Regions from separate parts of the Homo sapiens genome. Here region 1 is linked to region 2. Evidence: promoter capture Hi-C in 16 types of primary human blood cells and fetal thymus (Javierre and others, 2016). All regions are on one chromosome and are shown on one strand. The core of a region is centred on a gene start or on the middle of the fragment in contact, and the rest is flanking DNA. Distances in the headings are between cores, read along the strand shown.

Region 1 (3,287 bases), core at 680-3,179, 1.3 Mb before region 2:
GGTTAAGCAGTAGGAAGGCCTTTTCCACAAAAAGGACAAGAGGCAACAAAGAGCTGTTTGAGAAGCAGTGAGGTCAGAGTGTTAGAAATTGAGTGGGGAGGGAAAGTGGCCTAAGACAAGGTCCAAGAGATAGGAAGAGGTTAGATCACACAGGGTCTTAATATAATAAGGAATGTGGATTTTATTGTGCTGTCAATGTAGGAGTCAGTTTGAGGGGTAAATGAAACTAAATACTGTTGGAAAAGCAGAGAGCAATAAGATAGGATGTTAAATTGGAAAAAAAAGTAGTATGAACCCATGTATATACCAATATCTCCCACATTTTTATTTCTAGCCCAGAACTCTCTCCTGAACTTGACTAGTTTTAATGACATCTTCTAAAAATCCACTTCAGTGTTTAATAAGTGCCTCATACTTAACAGGTTCCAGACTAAATTCCTGACCTTCCCCTCCAAATCTACTCCTCCCCTAACTTCTCCATCTCAGATAATGGCAACTCCATCCCTCCAGTTGCTCAGCCAAAAACCTGGGCTCCTCTCTCTCACACTTCACATCCAGTCAGCCATTCTTCTTAAAATCATGACTGTTCCATTGCAGGTAATGCTTCTGATCTCCATGATATGCTTTCTCCATAGCACTGTCAACATCTGACATACTACATCATTCATTTGTTTATTGTTTGTCTCCCCTGACTAGAATGTCAGCTGTATGAGGGCAGATTTTGTTTTTTTTTGTTTCCTGCTCTATCCCCAGGGACCAGAACAGTGTGTGGCACAGAGGAGGCACCCAACGTATGTTGAATGAATAAGTGACTACTCCATTAAAAGGAACCTGAGGTTGGCTGAGTGTATGTTTAGGGACAGGAAATAAATGAAGTATGGGTGTTGTTGCCAGAGAGCAAGAATACTTTCAAGAATATTCTGGGGGTAATGCTTAAAGAACAGAAGAATGAACCTGATCAGCTCCTAAGGGACAATTTTAACATCAAAAAAGAGAACAAAATTAGTTAATGGTGTAAGCTTACCTTATGAAAACCTATGAGTTCAACACTTTAAAAGGGAGAAAAATACAGAGTTCACCAAATGCTAGCTGTAACACAAAAGGGATATGTTTATTACTGCTGATTTATTTTTATTTGCTATGTGAGAAGCAAATTACTACTGATTTAGTATGTAAGGCAGTGTGAATAGTCATATGGTTATGCTTTTTTTTTTTTTTTTGAGATGGAGTCTCACTGTGTCGCCCAGGCTGGAGTGCAGTGGCGTGATCTCGGCTCACTGCAACCTCCACCCTCCGAGTTCAAGCGATTCTCCTGCCTCAGCCTCCTAAGTAGCTGGGATTACAGGCGCCTGCCACCGTTCCCGGCTAATTTTTTGTATTTTTAGTAGAGACGGGGTTTCACTATCTTGGACAGGCTGGTCTTGAACTCCTGACCTCGTGATCCACCCACCTCGGCCTCCCAAAGTGCTGGGATTACAGGTGTGAGCCACCGCGCCCGGCCGTTAGGCTGTTTCTTCTATAATTACATGTCTATTCATGAGATGTGGATGTGTACTCCTTTCTGTGTCATCAGGAAAGAATATAGAGATTTCATCCCTTCCACTTCCCAAACAAAGAAATATACTAAGAACAGGAAGAACTGACACTTTTGATCACATAAAATGACCAGAAAGTTAGTTCAAAGTATATCCCAAGTAACCAAATATTTTTAAAGGACAGCCAGCTACATAGACTCAAATCTTCATCTCTTAGAAAAATTAAACTTCTAGACAGTCCTACTAATTACAATAAAGCAGTAAGACTCAACCATATTTTTCATCACACTAACAGACCAGGTCAGTACATCAAAAAGACCAGGCAAGGGGGCAGGCACTGACAATTTAAATACTTCATTTTGGGGAAGTACGTGGAGTCTCAAAACATTAAAATCTATTTGATAGGCTCAGGAATCCTGTGACATAACAAGGAAAGCCTTCTTATACAAACTAGACTTTAGCTGGGCGCGGTAGCTCACACCTGCAATCCCAGCACTTAGGGAGGCTGAGGTGGGCAGATCATCTGAGGTCGGAGTTTGAGACCAGCCTGGCCAACATGGCAAAACCCTGTCTCTACTAAAAATACAAAAATTAGTCGGGAGTGGTGGTGGGTGCCTGTAGTCCCAGCTACTTGGGAGGCTGAGGCAGGAGAATCCCTTAAGCCCAGGAGGCAGAGGTTGCAGTGAGCCAAGATCGCACCACTGCACTCCAGCCTGGGCGACAAGAGCAAAATTCCGTCTCAAAAACAAAGTGGACTTGGTCTAAATGACCACCAGTTCAGAATTGTGTTGACCATGAAAGCAGGCCGTTTAATTAAACTATTTGCTAATTGGTCTGAACACCAAGAATCAGAAATCTCAGCAGGTCTGAGGTTCTTTTGGGTCCACTAGCACCTGCTAGTCCTTCCCATGGCTGGAAAGGTTTGAAAAGATAAAAATTACTGAAACTCTAAGGGAGGCAACTCTGGAAAAAATGAATGTAGAACAGACATAAACACAAAACACAACCAACAAAGAAGTTTAAATCAATGGTACTCACACTTGTGAGATGTTGTTAATCTAAGTGTATTGCTCAGTGCCCCCATGCTCATTCCATTGAAACCAAGCTCACCTCTCTTGGTAGTTTCACTAGCATACCAGGCACACTATTCCTCTTGCCAGGAATGCTCTTCGCCAGATAGCCCCATGGCTTTGTCACTCAGTCAAATGATTCAAATGTCCCTTCCTCTGGGAGGCCTTCCCTAGCTACATTTCAAATCCCTCATCTATGCTCCCAACTGCCCTTCCCTGCACAAAACCGTAAATCAAGCTTGTCCAACCTGCAACCAGTGGGCCACATGCGGTCCAGGACGGCTTTGAATGCAGCCCAACACAAATTCATAAACTTTCTTAAAACATTATGTGATTTTTTTTTGCAACTTTTTTATTTTAGCTCATCAGCTATCATTAGCATTAGTGTATTTTATGTATGGCCCAAGACAAATCTCCCAATGTGGCCCACGGAAACCAAAAGATTGGACACTCCTGCCTTAAACTCAACTGGAGCCCACATTTTCTCTCCCCATCACCCCCAACACAGATCTGCTTCAATAACCACTTTAATATGCTTCCAGCATACCCTTTCAAATTATTTCAACAAACACAAAGCCGGGTACAGCAGTGCGCCTGTAGTCCCAGTTACTTGGCAGGCTGAAGCAAGGGGATTGCTTGAGCCCAGGAGTTTGAGGATGTAGTATGCTATGATCGCAGCTGT
Region 2 (3,157 bases), core at 192-2,691:
TGTCACTCAGAAAGGAGATAAGTAAAGCTGCTGGTCATTGGGTGTTGGTTTTGGTCCCTGTCCCCAAGGGCAAGGGAATCATATCTCCCTGTGAAAAGTCTTACATCCCTGGAAAAAGCTTAGAAGATCCCTATCCTTAAAGGGGGCGTGTGTGTGTGTGTGTGTGTCAGGACCTTGATTCTAGAAGCAGGACTCTCAGGCCCCTGAAGACAGACTTAGGACCCTTGAGGTCTCAGGTCTGGCTATTCAGTGGTCCTGTGCAGTGTTACCCAGCGAAGCGGGAGAGGATTGTCCTATATGCAGAGTGTCTCAGACTCTTGAAAGGGCTTAGGCTCCTTGGGGATGTTCAGCCCCGATCTCCGAGGTCTCCACCTTATTTGACTTTCCTGGAAGGGGAATCTCAAACTTCTATCCCAGAGGAAAAGAGCTCTTAAGCCACTGAACACATACCTAAGTCTCTTGGGAGACCTGAGACTCCTACTCAAGAGGGGCGCGATCCTACCTGTATCTCTTGGAGAATTCCCACCTATTGGCCCTATATGATGAGGTCCCAGGGACTGGAATGACGACTATAGACCTTAAAAGAGACCTCGGATCTTTAAGTCTGACACCTTACCGTAGGCCTCTAGCCCCAAAATCCTGGAGGGGAGGAAAGAAGGTGTCTCACATCCCTACCGCCAGAGAAGACTGTCAGGCCCAGTGAAAACGCCTAGATCCCTTGGGGCGATCTCAAACAGCCTTCCTTGAGTCCCTTCACAGTCTGGGGGTCCCATCTGCCGTGGCCGCTCACCCCTCACCCCACAGCTCTTACCTGCTCGACAGTGGCAGGGTCCATAGCCTCGATGCGTGCTGCAGCCGCCTCATACTCGTCCTCACTGTTGTAGCCTGCGCCGACCTCCTCACGCTCGGGACTGCCCCCGCCAACCGCGCCAACCCCGGGAGCTTGACGTCGCCGCTTGCTGTGCCCAGGCCCGGAGCAGCAGCCGCCCACGCCTACGGCACCACCCACACCCACCACCACGCCCGCGGCACCCACACCCGCCGCCGCTGCGCCCAGCGCGTCGCCGGGACCGCCGCCGGGACCACCTGGGCCCCCGCAAGGAGGTGGAGAAGCCTGTTGTGGCCGGGGACCCGCCACTGCACCAGGCGGCACGGCCAGCGCCCAGCGATGAAGAGCGCCCGGCGGTCCTGGTAGCGGGCCTTGAGGCGGTGGCGAAGCTCGCGGACGGGCCCCCACGACGCCGGAGTCACGGTCGCGATCGCCGCCGCCCACGCCCGTGCCGCCGCCGCCCACGCCCACACCTCCGCCGCGCCGCGGCGCCGGGGGCATCGGCCCGGGCGGCGGCGGCTCGTTGGCGGGGTCGGCGTCGGGAGGCGGCGGCTTCTTTTTGGGGAGTATAGTCATGGCTGCACTGCCGAGTACCCCCCAACAAACCCGGCGCGGGGCACGCCGGGAGAGAACCCGGATGAGGGGGCTAGTGTAGTGCGCGAGGCACGACGGGAACGGCGAGACCCGGATAAAGGGATCGCGGCACCGGTTCGAGAACCCTCGGCGGCGGAGGAGGCGGCGGCGGCGGCGGCGGCGGTGGCGGCGCGCGGGTCACGCCGAGAGGAGAACCCGGATGTAAAGTCCAAGATGAAGGCAGTGCGGCGAGTTTGTCTTAGCCTTCTCTCCAAGTCCAGCAAGTTTATTGCTACGCTTGTTCCGGCCTTCTGCTTCAAAGGAAACAGAACCAAAACAAGCACCTCTTCGCTCCGCCCCCTCGCAGGTTCTTGCACTACCGGGTGGGGCCCCGGGGCGCTGCGCACGCGCGCCAGGGCACAGCCCCGCCCCTTACTCGGAAGTACGTGGGCAAAATCGCCGCCGCCGCCGCCACAACAATTGCAACACCAACCAATTGAGCAGCTGCGTGGGACCTCGACGACGCCCACGGGCCAATCACAGGCGAGTGCTCGCCCTCCGGTGCCCTCCGTCTCAAATTTCAGTCAAAGTCGACACCCTGGTTCCCAGCCTTTCTCCCCGTCAGTTCCGTCTTGCTCTTCACTTTTCTCCCCGAAGCTCTGACCTGCAGGCGTCGGTACTGCGGACGGACAGCGTGGCCTGTCCCACGTACGACAGGAAAAACACCTCCCCTCCAGGATTCCAACTTGAACGCTGTCAGCCGGAATGACTGGAAAACATCAACACTCCCGGGAGCATAGCTGGCCCCTGTAGCGTCACTTCCGGTCCCACCCACCTACAAATACCCTTCCGGGGGAGGCGGACACCGCTTCGCCCCGGCAACAGCCTGAGTTCTGCGGTGATTGGTTAAGAGACGCCGTCACTCGCGGCATACCGACCAACCTTGGGACAGACAGGCGCCGTGGGGACAGTGGTTGTTTGGGAAACAGACACGCCTTCTCTGGCACCACAGCACTCTCGGCCTCGCGTTGACCTCCCCGCCCCTATGGCTAGTGCGCAGGCGCGGCCCAGCCTTTTTTTTTTTTTTTTTTTTTTTTTTTCCTAATTGAGACAGGGGTCTCACTCTGTCGCCCAGGTTGGAATGCAGTGGCGCGATCATAGCTCACTGCAAACTCCAACTCCCAGGTTCAAGCGATCCTCCCGCCTCAGCCTCCCGAATAGCTGGGACCACAGGCGCGCACCACTACGACCGGCTAATTTTTTTTTCACTTTTTTGTAGGGACAAAGTCTCACTATGTTGCCCAGGCTGATCTCCAGCTCCCGGGCTCAAGCGATCCTCCCGCCTCGGCTTCCCAGAGTGCTGGGATTACAGGCGTTAGTCACCGCGCCTGGCCAAGCCCAGCCTTTTTCTAAAACTGAGTTTGCTTGGGTCGATCGAGGTTTATGAAAGCTCTGTCACCAGTCAGCGTCTCAAAATGGGGTTGGCAGAATCCCTGCTATTGAGTAGCTGGAGAGCTACACGCTAATCCTAGCTCTGCCCTTCCTGTCTGAGTGATCTTTGTCAGTCATTTAAAACCCACCCCGTCCTCAATTTTTGTTGTTGTTGTTTACTTTTTTATAGAACGCTTCACGTATTTGCGTGTCATCCTTTCGCATAGTGCCATGCTAATCTCTGTATCGTTCTAATTTTAGTATATGTGGTGCGAAGTGAGCACCCATCCTTAATTTCTATTCTATAAATTGGCAATAATTCTA

What was found. Contacts are between HindIII fragments. The CHiCAGO score rates a contact against its expected background, and 5 or more counts as called.
Region 1: a fragment that was not itself captured here is called in contact with the fragment with the promoter of OTUD5 in region 2 in 1 of 17 cell types (neutrophils); the score reaches 5.6 in neutrophils.

What each region holds. Positions count from the first base shown.
Region 1 is chrX:47,653,005-47,656,291 of GRCh38, forward strand. The region is part of intron 5 of UXT (ubiquitously expressed prefoldin like chaperone); the gene reads right to left. Among named protein-coding and RNA genes, the nearest start is that of ELK1, 4.1 kb to the left of the region's middle. The HindIII fragment of the contact is 1,824 bases long and covers 1,018-2,841 here.
Region 2 is chrX:48,956,166-48,959,322 of GRCh38, forward strand. OTUD5 (OTU deubiquitinase 5) reads right to left here and starts at 1,442. Exons shown (of 9, transcript NM_001136157.2): 1 at 812-1,442. The coding sequence starts at 1,405. It also overlaps the pseudogene RNU6-722P. RefSeq lists silencers at 1,059-1,118, 1,489-1,538, 1,739-1,898 and an enhancer at 1,999-2,188. The HindIII fragment of the contact is 4,109 bases long and covers 117-3,157 here.